Regions from separate parts of the Homo sapiens genome. Here region 1 is linked to region 2. The links are contacts of gene promoters, found by promoter capture Hi-C in blood cells and fetal thymus (Javierre and others, 2016). All regions are on one chromosome and are shown on one strand. Each heading gives the region's core, a stretch centred on a gene start or on the middle of the fragment in contact. The rest is flanking DNA. Distances are from core to core; before and after follow the strand shown.

What was found. Contacts are between HindIII fragments. The CHiCAGO score rates a contact against its expected background, and 5 or more counts as called.
Region 1: a fragment that was not itself captured here is called in contact with the fragment with the promoter of PGRMC2 in region 2 in 1 of 17 cell types (total B cells); the score reaches 7.7 in total B cells.

The regions. Positions count from the first base shown.
Region 1 is chr4:122,728,017-122,733,448 of GRCh38, reverse strand. BBS12 (Bardet-Biedl syndrome 12) reads right to left here and starts at 745. Exons shown (of 2, transcript NM_152618.3): 1 at 565-745. It also overlaps the pseudogene CETN4P. RefSeq lists an enhancer at 286-495 and a silencer at 856-1,075. The HindIII fragment of the contact is 227 bases long and covers 1,492-1,718 here.
Region 2 is chr4:128,283,246-128,289,161 of GRCh38, reverse strand. PGRMC2 (progesterone receptor membrane component 2) reads left to right here and starts at 1,349. Exons shown (of 3, transcript NM_006320.6): 1 at 1,349-1,789. The coding sequence starts at 1,372. RefSeq lists silencers at 54-348, 720-909, 1,230-1,409, 1,420-1,469, 1,650-1,709. The HindIII fragment of the contact is 4,970 bases long and covers 1-2,893 here.

The DNA.
Region 1 (5,432 bases), core at 356-2,855, 5.6 Mb after region 2:
ACTGGGCCAAGGAAATGGCTGGATGTGTGTGTGTGTGTGTGTGTGTGTGTGTGTGTGTGTGTGTGTGTGTGTTGGGGTTGGAGGGCGGGGTCCGATAGTAATTATGGGTGGGGCCAAAGTCCTACCTCGTAAACAAATGCTACACGAAACATGTAAAAACGTTTATCTATGTATGTAGTGAAGCTTTAAATACATCCCAAGACCCATGCTTATCCCAATACCCACGTCCCTCCAACGACACTGTTACCCCATGCCACTGCTATACAGAATTCTGGTGTCTACCATGCCAGAATCCCTGCCCAAAACAGGGAGGAGGTAAATGGCTGAAGGCCCAGCTCCAGGCACTGTAGAAAATGAGGAAAGTCTAGCGGCAAAAAGAAAGGGCAGTCCCCTCTTCCTCTAGTACTCCTAGCCACATGCTGGACCAATTCACCCCAGGACCTCCAGGCCCTAGATTCTCATTCTTTCCCTGGCCCGAAGAGGACAGAAAAATCAAACACACGGGCTCCCACGTCTTCAGGAAAGACTTAGCTTAGCAGTCAGCGGAAGCACCTCACTACTAACCTCGCTCCTTTCTCCTCTCCTACAGGGGGCTGGAGTTCCCGGCTTCCCACCGGCCAGACGCGATTCTGGCTGGGACAGCAACACCAAAAACGCCAGGGCTAGGGAGCCCAGTTCCCCGTCCGCAGTTTGCGCATGTGCGAAGAGGGGCTTCTGGAGGAGCCGGGGGCTTAGTTGCTAAGAGACACAGCTGGAGAGAGAAGTTCCGCTTAACGCCGGGCTGCGAAAGGCGGGGACGTCACGCTATTGGTAGGGAGTAGAGAGAAAGGGCTGGTTTAAAGGCCTTTTTTTCTGTCCATTGGATGAACTGGATGTCAATAACTCAGGCTGGGTGGGCGGGGCTGAGAGAGGTCGGTGAGAGCGGCCTTAGCAACCGCCAGTGAGCTGTGAAGACTTGGGTTGGGCGGGGCTGCGGGAGGTGACGCCGGGAGGTCCCGGCTGAGAGCGCCGGCTGCCGGCTGGGGACCTGGTGAGTGTGAAGCTGTAACCTTCTGCTGGGGCCGGGGCCGAAGTTTTTCCGCCAGAGCAAGGAAGGCTGCCCCTGGCAGCAACTGCACTCCTTCCTTACTCCTGTTGAGATTCATTTTATAGTAGGAAATAGGTACTTTAATATAGTTTATCATCAATTATTCTGGTTCTGCTAACTATTCCAGTTATATAATTTATCTTTCACCCATATGTGTGTGTATTACAGGCATCTAACTACCATACAAGTTCAGACCAATGGAAGAAAAGAGCAGCAAAAATTGAACTGAATGAATCCCAAAAGCAAGAAATTAAAGACGCCTTTAATTTATTTGATATTGATGGGTCTGGAACCATCGATGTAAAAGAAGGTTCTGAAATTATTTCTAATTCTAAATCATTTTAAAAACCATATTATTTGTGGCAATCTTTAAGGCTTTCTTTAAAAGTAGTCTTCTGAAAGCTTAATATAAAGTCTCTTCAGTGCATATGCCTGCCCTGCATTAGCAAAACGATATCTTGTTAAGCATTTTAATTGTGTTTTATAAATGAGTAGGCAAAAGCCCAGGGTGTAACAGTGATGTACATGATGGCACAGTAGGACTGAAACACAGGCCTGCTGACCTAATTTTCTGTTTATGCTCAGTCCATAATAGAAAAGAGAGAAGCTCTTAATAGGGAGTTAAAAAGCTTAGAAAGAAATCATGGCATATTATAATTCCTTTTCTTCCTATTTCAGATTGCAGTGTGGGCCTTAGGATTTGAACCAAAGAAAGAAGAAATTTAAAAAATGGTAGCTGAAGTTGATAAAGAAGGAATTGGCACCATTAGTTTTGAAGATTTTTTTTTGCCATTATGAGTATAAAAATGATATAGTTATGATTTTATTTTTCAAAGAAATACTAGCAATAACCTGCTACATTTTAGGGCTGGAGCAATCAGAAGTTTTATAGAGAAGCAATTAGAACTAGGTTTTTAAGGATGGGAGATAGGAAGAGCAAGATTAAATATGTTTTCAGGGTAGTAATGAGAAGACTATGATGTGGAGAAGAGGTTTTTGTCAGGAAATAATGAGGCTATATTGCAGGATAGAGAGAATGGGGCCAGAATTTGGAAGCCTTTAATTCAGCAACATATATTGAATGCCTATTTTTGCCAGGCACTATTCTAAGGAGCATTGAAAGATACAACCTTCCATTTTGAAGCTTACATTTTTGGTAACGGATCTGAATTATGAGGTTTAATAAGAGATGCATTCTGGACCACCCTGTGCCTTCTCCACCTTAGCAAGCTCTACCTTTAAGCACCTTGAGGGCAGGTGTGAGTACATAATTGTTAAAAGACCAATAAATAAAATCAGAACACAGCTACTTGGCACATTGCTGCTTTAGACCCCAAAGATCTAATTAAGTCCAGCTTGATAAAATAAATAAATGAAAGACTGGATAGTTGCTTCTTTTTTAAAAGAGTAAAAAAGATGAAAAAGAAGAAATATTGAAGACTTTCAAATTATTTGATGATGATGATACTGGAAGTATAATACTAACCGGTATCAAGAGGTTTGCTAAGAAACCAGGGGAAAATTTAACATGATGAACTTCAGGTAGATTTTGCTTATTTTTATAATTATAATTTATATGTAATTATAACTTATGTGATAATTTAGGATTATAATTCTAACTTTAGTTGCACTTATGCATTTAAAATAAAATTTGGTTTTGAATATGTGTTTGACTTCATTTATGTCATTTTAAATGTATTTCATATATTTACATTTTGTTTTACAGGAAATGCTTGATGAAGCTGATCATGATAGAGATGGAGAAATAAACGAGGAAGATGTTTTGAGAGTGATGAAAAAGACTACTCGTTATTAATAGCGTTGTTTTAGTCCTTGTGGAAAATTAACAAATTTGTATTTGTTATGCAGTTTTATAATTTAATATCTGAATGTATTCATTTTCAGTTTTTAGTTTATATGTACACATTGGCTTCTTGATGTCTAATCCATGTAAGAAGTTACACATCTCTACCAATATGATGTTAAATCTACAGCATCAAGAAACAAAACATAATGACTTCTTTGAGCCATTAATCCAAGAACAGTATTGATTCTAGCTGCTCTTTTGAGAACCTTAGGTCACAAAGACTTAGAATTTTAAAGTTTGATGAAGTTGGCTTCACATCCAAATGAATTTGGCAAACAAAACTTATATTTTCCTTTTGTGCAACCCAAAAAAACCTGATGAACATTTGCTTTTTAGTCAGTTACTCAAATACATAAAGTATTAAATAGAACTGTCTGGAAACATTATTTGCTAATTTTCTTCTTTTAGTTATAAAGAAAATTCAAAATAGCACTTACATCACCCATATTTCCCTGTAAGTTTGACTCTATAGTGAGCACTTAATACCTCTGTGCTAGGACAGGTGGTGTAGAGTTTTATTTTTAAAAAATTTTATTTATATATTTTTTGAGACAAAATCTCCCTCTGTCACCCAGGCTGGAGTGCAGTGGTGCGATCTCGGCTCAATGCAACCTCTGCCTCCTGGGCTCAAGAGATTCTCCTGCCTCAGCCTCCCGAGTAGCTGGGACTACAGGTACCTGCCACCATGCCTAGCTAATTTTTTGCATTTTTAGTAGAGACGGAGTTTCACTGTGTTAGCCATGATGGTCTCAATCTCCTGACCTCATGATCTGCCTACCTCAGCCTCCCAAACTGCTGGGATTACAGGGGTGAGCCACCGTGCCTGGCCGAGATTTTATGTGTTAACCTCAGTAAACATATTACAAGTTGGAAGCTGATTGTATTAGCTCCATTTTACATACAAGAAAACTAAAGTTCAGAGAAGTTTTAAAAATTCCCCAGTTGCCCATTGATAAGAAATAAAACATGGATTCCAAATCTTAAGTTCTTATTCTTCATTATGCTGCTTCCCTATGGATAAAACTTTCAAGATAACTGTGTATTTTCTAACTCATTTTCAATTCTGTGACTCTTGTGATTTCTTCCTTGTGAAAGAGCCAAACTGTTGGGAAACGGAATCTCATACATACAGTCTTTTAACTCCTACTCAGTTGTTTGAGAGTGGGCCTTGGGCCTGGAACACTTCTTTTGAAGAGACTAGGAGTCCACAGAGCCTGTGCTGAACTTACCACCCCGTATAGTAATATCTTCCTCTGTTTCAGAGTCAATGTGTAGTCCTTTGCCCTGCTTAAGTGTGTGCATCATATGGCATCTGACCAACCCCACTGCTCTGTCTCCTGTGGGGGAGGGGATGGGGGTCCTTCAGCACAAGAGGAGTGTTTGCAGGCCACCTGCCCTGTGTCAGCTGCCAAGAGGGACCCTCTGGTCATGGGAGACTGAAGTCCACTAGGGAAGCTGATCTTGCTCTGTCTCTTCTGTATGTGAGTAATGTGTGTTCCACCCAGTGTTTCACTGCATTGTTTTCCTTGGCGACTTTGAAACAAGATGCAGTGGACAGAAGTGCTCAGACTTCTGCTCCTGACAAATAGGCAACAGATGCCACTTGCTCCACACAAACACTTTCTGATAACCAAGTTGTCTTTGGAGCAAGAAAGACTCATAGAAAATTAACTATAGTGACACTACCTGGTTCATTTTTAGCACAACTGAAATGAAAACTGAAGGTTTTAATTTTGTCTTGTCAACACAAGAGGTTTTATTTGATTGAAACTAGAATTGTATGTGCTCATGAGCATTCTCAAGTGTTTTCACAGTGTCTTTGATTTCTAATTATGTAACATTTCTTCTAGACCAGGGAAAAACTTGCCTATTAAATGTGCTTCATATGTGAAAATGTTAGCCTTCAAATGGTTAAAAGTATACATGAACAAGTTCCAAAAGTTCTGAATAAAAGTCTCCTTCCTATCCAAGCCCCAGTTCTTCCTAAAGACAAAGATTTTTGCCACTTTTTAATGAATCATTACAGAGAATGCATATTCATATACATATGTATACAGAATAGTTTTTTCACAAATGATAGCATATTATACACATTGTGTATATATTTGAGAAATAGTTACATAACTTGAGAAATAGTTGCATAACAATACAAATAAAATATCTGTATAATATTCCATTCTAATGGAATGGAATGGCCATATAATTCATTATATCAATTATTATATTTGACAGTCTTCTAATGGGAGACATTTTAGTTTCCAACGTTTTGCTTAAATTAATATCCTTATACATATGTTTAATTTGGGAATACCTGTACAATTAATTGTCACAAATGAAGTGATTGGGTTAAAATCAATATGCATTTTAATTTAAATATTTTTATTTTTGATAGATATTGCCTTCTAAAAAGATTTTTGCCAAATTACATTTCCAAAAATACTATATGAAAATGCCCAAAGTATTATCAAACTTTTTTGA
Region 2 (5,916 bases), core at 100-2,599:
CCCTTTACAAAAAATGTTTGCCAACCCCTGCTCTAATGTCTCCCCTAGCTCTGAGTCTCCTCACCTCACGCACAAATACCCTAGCCTACTAACTGCTTTCCCACTCTTTCCCCAGCCTCTAATCCTTCAGACACCTGGTTGCTATACAGCCTCTCTACAAGAGTGTCGACCCTGTCACTTGCCTCGTCAATATCCTCAGTGACTCCTACAAAACCGACAGTGAAAGGTTCAAACCTATTCTATGAGACTCAAGACAACAGACAACAAAGGGCAAGAGAGAACACGTCAAACGAGTTCGTCAAACGAGTTGAGTGCGTGAGACTTCAGAGGTCACTTTTTCACACTAGAATTTCAAGGTGTGAGAGGCTAAAAGACGTCCAAGTACATGAAACAGAACCTGCAAATAAGAGTGAATGACGAATAGAAAGACCACCTCAACCTGTCCACTTCCCTACGGCCGCAGAAGTTATGATTCAAGGAATAATGAGACTCTAAATCCTTTAAAATTCTACAAGAGCAGCCTTTGCCAAACCCAGCGGGGAGTGGCTGCTCGGTGCCAGCGCGAGGAGCACGTAGACTGCCGATGCCAGAGAAGCCCGGTGCGGGTTCCGTGCTTTCTCTCCGTTCCAGGAAGACCCCAGCTCGTGGCCAAATCTTCTTGCCGCTTCCCGGTCTGCGCGCCTACGCTGCCGGTTTCCCGACAAAAGCGACGGCGCCCTGGTGAAAAGCAGACGCCCCTCATCGGTTTGCGCCTTGCAGCTCAACTATGCCCCAGCCTCCCACAAGCCACCTGCCCGCGTCCTCCGCCAGGCGTCCAGCCCGGACCTGCCCCCGCGGCCGCCAAGGCGCACGTGAAGCTCCCGGGCGGGGGGAGCGCAAGGAGGCGGGAGTTTGCGGACGCGAACGCAGGCCTAGGAAGGGAAGCGATTCCAGGGCGCACGCGCAGAGCCTGGAGACTGGGCGGGGCGTGCCTCCCGCAGGGGTTACGAACGAAAGGCGAGCGCGTGGCGCTCAGGAGCCCGCGCACGCGCTGTGGTCTCGCCCCGCCCATGAGCGTCCGCGCGGCCGTCGTAGCATCTTTTCTTCAGACCCGCCCGGCTCGTCTACTTAACCTAGCGGAGGCTTGGAGTGAGAGCAGGGAAGTGTGGGGCGAGGTGGGCGGGGCGTTGCACGCGTGCGCGGCCAGCGAAAGAAGGGAGGGGGCGGGAGATCCGAGACAACGTTACCCCGTCAACACCCAATCAGGAGCCGGCCTGACCCCGCCCCCTCTTCTCACGTTATTGGCTGAGAGGCCCCCAGATGGGCGGGGCCGGCCGTGGGGTTGGGGAGGGCAGGGGGCGGGGAGGAGGAGGAAGGCGCTGGCGGGCAGTGATGGCGGCTGGTGATGGGGACGTGAAGCTAGGCACCCTGGGGAGTGGCAGCGAGAGCAGCAACGACGGCGGCAGCGAGAGTCCAGGCGACGCGGGAGCGGCAGCGGAAGGGGGAGGCTGGGCGGCGGCGGCGTTGGCGCTTCTGACGGGGGGCGGGGAAATGCTGCTGAACGTGGCGCTGGTGGCTCTGGTGCTGCTGGGGGCCTACCGGCTGTGGGTGCGCTGGGGGCGGCGGGGTCTGGGGGCCGGGGCCGGGGCGGGCGAGGAGAGCCCCGCCACCTCTCTGCCTCGCATGAAGAAGCGGGACTTCAGCTTGGAGCAGCTGCGCCAGTACGACGGCTCCCGCAACCCGCGCATCCTGCTCGCGGTCAATGGGAAAGTCTTCGACGTGACCAAAGGCAGCAAGTTCTACGGCCCGGGTGAGGAGTTGGAAGGGGAGGGGAAGGACCCCCTGCAGCTGAAGCACAACCCCCTTCGGACAGGGAGGCCTCTGGGCACCGGGTTAGTTTGCCCAGCCTTCTCGTCTCCGGGACCCCCGCGCCTCGGCCGCCGCACCTGGGACGGCCCATCCCGCCCCTACACACACACCGTCCCCCCGCAGCTACGGGCACCTCCAGTTCTTCCCCCGAAACCAGGGTCCCCGGTGGCGCCCCAGAGACCAGCTCTCAGCATTCATCTTTCTTCCATCCCATTTCTCCTCGCAGCCTTTTTTTTTTGTTTCTTTGGCTGGATTTTTCAAAATCGTTTTAGTTGTCACAGGTCAACGCTGGCCCTTAACCTTTTTTGAGTCTCCTGATTCCTGGGATGGATGGGGCACCAGGGAAGGGAGATTTCTGAAGTTGGGACCTAAACTAAAGTTTTGGGCTCTGTAATTCACCGTTTTCTTTTCCTTGCCCCCTTTTTTTTTTTTTTTGCCACTGATCTCCTTTTTTCCCTCGCTGTATTACTCCGTAAGGCCACGTTTAGGGGCATGTAAAGTCCCAACCCTCCAGTCTCTGAAGTCCAGACGTATAAGCAACACCTCGGACTCTCTTTAAACCAGTTTTAGTTCGGAGTTGCTTTCCATGATTAACAAGGTATGTGGGATGAGAACAGACCAGAATGCAGAGCTTATTAAAGACTGGTAAGGATATTCACCTTGAGTTTTGGGGGTGGAGCTCCTATACCCAGCAGGCGTGTCTCTGGTTTCTTTTTTCTTTTTTTTTCTCTTTTCAAGTACACGTTGATAATGACTTGTGTTTTCACTTAGCAGAACTAAGGAGAAAAAACTTAGAAGAGTTGTAGATTTATACCCCCATGTGCCAGTTATGCAAGTTAAAGATTTTTAGAACTTTGTTTTGAGAGAACTTTGTTTTCAGGGAACTTTGTGTAGGGTAGTTGATTTAGACGCCCTTTTTTTACAGTGTGGTTGTAGCATACATTTTGGATTATGTTAATAAACCCCAGACTCATGGAACCTGTTGGTATATCATACAGTTGAGCAACATTGTGCATCCTGGTTGTGCACTGATTAATACTAAGCTTTAAAAAAAAGTGGTGACTACAATAAGAATAAATAATTAAATTAGAGACCTAAAGTGACCTGTTATTGGAGAGAGTACCTCCAAGCCTTAAAGTCATAGGGTTGGCAGTCTGGAAGTAAGCTGGTTTTCTCCTTAATTTAATCTGTAGGTGTATAAGATTTATTGACACTTAAAAATATATACTTCTGATTTCAGTGCTTGATAGCTGGAAGATATTTTAGAAGTGCTTTGGTTTGTAGTTTGTTCATTGGAATAGGGATAAGAAATAGGAGATTTTTGGTGTTGAATTATGTAATTTATTTCTTAGTTGTTTGTACTTCTGTGTATATATACACATTTAATCCAACCAAGTAAATACATAGCTTACAGAGTTTTTGCTTCTGGTTACATAAATGTGAACACAAGGTGTCTGCCTACTTATATCAACTGAAATGGTTAATACATTTTTGTTTACTTAAGCACACGTGGGACAAGAGAACAGGGCCAAAGTACAGTATTTAAACAGGCCAAGCGAAGTAAATTTTTTTTAAATCAAGGATTTAGACAGCATTTTATACCTAGTTCAAGCTTTTCCCCCATTGGTATTAAAATGTGTTAAGTGATTAGAAATCCTGTACAGGTTTAAATTTTTAATATAGACCTTACCCAGCTAAAAGATCAGCTTTTGTACCCTGTCTGAACTGCCACTGAAGAAAACAAAGTATTAGTACAAAGAATCGTATTAGTCCTCACACATTATGCCTTGGCAGTATCTGAAAATAGCTAAGAGAGACAGTCATAGAAACAGTTTGGCAGCCTCCAGTGGCAAACGTTTGTTCTGTGATAGAAATTAAAAATTAAAGCCAGGCGTGGTGGTTCATGCCTGTAATCCCAGTGCTTTGGGAGGCCGAGGCGGGTGGATCACCAGAGGTCAGGAGTTCGAAACCAGCCTGGCCAATATAACAAAACCTCGTCTCTACTAAAAATACAAGAAAATCAGCTAGACGTGGTGGCGGGTGCCTGTAATCCCAGCTACTCGGGAGGCGGAGGCAGGGAGAGTTGCTGGAACCCGGGAGGTGGGGGTTGCAGTGAGCCGAGATTGCGCCATTGCACTCCAGCCTGGGCGACAGAGAGAGACTCGGTATAAAAAAAAATTAAAAATTAAGAGTCATAGGTGGTAGATTGCTTTTTTATGGTATGTGCACTGAGGGAGGCTCTTGAGATTACAATGGAGAAGTCAGTTTTAGATTAGTTTCTGCCAGTTCCTAGGTTCTGTTGAACAGCCTAAGAGTGATATACAGTTAGTATTCTACAGTTGATCAACAACATAACAGATATTTGAATATTTTATTATTGAAAGGAACCTTAAAGAAAGCCAGATCATTTTATGGGCTTAGAATATGTTGATATTGCATATTAATAGAAAATGTAATAAGTAGTACTTTTCAAAAAATCTTAAAGCCAAATTTCTGGCTATAAAACAGATACAAGTTCAGTTTTGCTTTTAATTTTTATTTTCATCCTCATAAATTAAGCAGTTTTGTAGCAGAATAATTCAGAAGCAGTAATTGTTAGTTTCTATGCCTAGCCAATATCTACCCTAATTTCACAATAATGGTTTTAGGATTAAATTTTGTGAGATTTTTCCATAATGCTAAACATGTGTTTATTTTTAGTCATACATTTTTAAAGTTCAGGCTCTTAATTAAATATTGACAGTGTAATTTGGTGGAGTATACACATTTTGGCAAACAGTTGGCATTAACTGTATTTGCCAATATTAAATTTAGTAACAGATCAGGCACTTGGCCAGCAGGTGAGGAAAGTTTGGTCATGTAAAAAACTGAATACAGGAGGAGAAAGAAAACCAGATTCGTTAAGCACCCACAATATCAGATCCATTAATTTTTTTATCTCCATAATTCCTCAGTGAAGTTGGTAAGTATTCCTGCTCTACAGGTGGGGAGTCTGAGGTCTAGGTATTTTAGGTAAATTGGCTTGGATTACATGTATGTCTAATAAATCCAGATGGATATTACCACACAGCTTATCTATACTATTTCTAGTAAACTGCATCCTGTGATAAACTTGTAGAGAATCTTACTGTTGTTTTTCTTTATACTCTTCCCTGGTTCCCATAAATCCAAGGATTTAAAGCCTCAAAAAAAACATGCCTTTCGGCCAGGCACGGTGGCTCACGCGTGTAATCCCAGCACTTTGGGAGGCTGAGGCAAGCGGATCACTTGAGGTCAGGAGTTTGAGACCAGACTGTCCAACATGGTGAAACCCCATCTCTACTAAAAAAAAAAAAATAAAAATAAAAAAATAAAGGCCAGGCACGGTGGCTCATGCCTTAATCCCAGCACTTTGAGAGACCAAGGCGGGCAGATCACCTGAGGTCAGGAGTTCGGGACCAGCCTGGCCAACATGGCCAAACCCTGTTTCTACAAAAATACAAAAAAAAATTAGCTGAGCTTGATGGTGGGTGCCTGTAATCCCAGCTACTGGGGAGGCTGAGGCAAGAGAATCACTTGAACCTAGGAGGTGGAGGTTGCAGTGAGCTGAGATCTCGCCATTGCACTCCAGCCTGGATGACAGAACGAGACTCTGTCTCAAAAAAAAAAAAAAAATGCTTTTATGGCTTTATGTTATACTGCCCAAAATGGTGGCCCCAGGTGGCTAATTAAAAGTAAATTAATTAAAATTAGATATAATTAAAAATTGAGTTCCTTAGTAACACTAGCCACATATAAAGTGCTGAGCCCACCATGGCTACCATTTTGGACAGTGCACTTTGTATATTTTCATATTGTGAGACTGGCGTGCCACCTACTGCACTAACAAGGCACCTCTTAGAGTATTTCTGTCTTCCCAGAGAGTTGTTGAAAACAACACTGATTCTAAAGGTCAGAGGAGGAGAAGGAGGAAACTCCATTTATTGAGCTTAGTATCGCTAATTTTCAAACAGCCCTATGAGATTGCCCAAAGCCACATATCTAGTAGGTGGCAACACTAAAAATTAAATCCAGATTTTCATAGCTTCA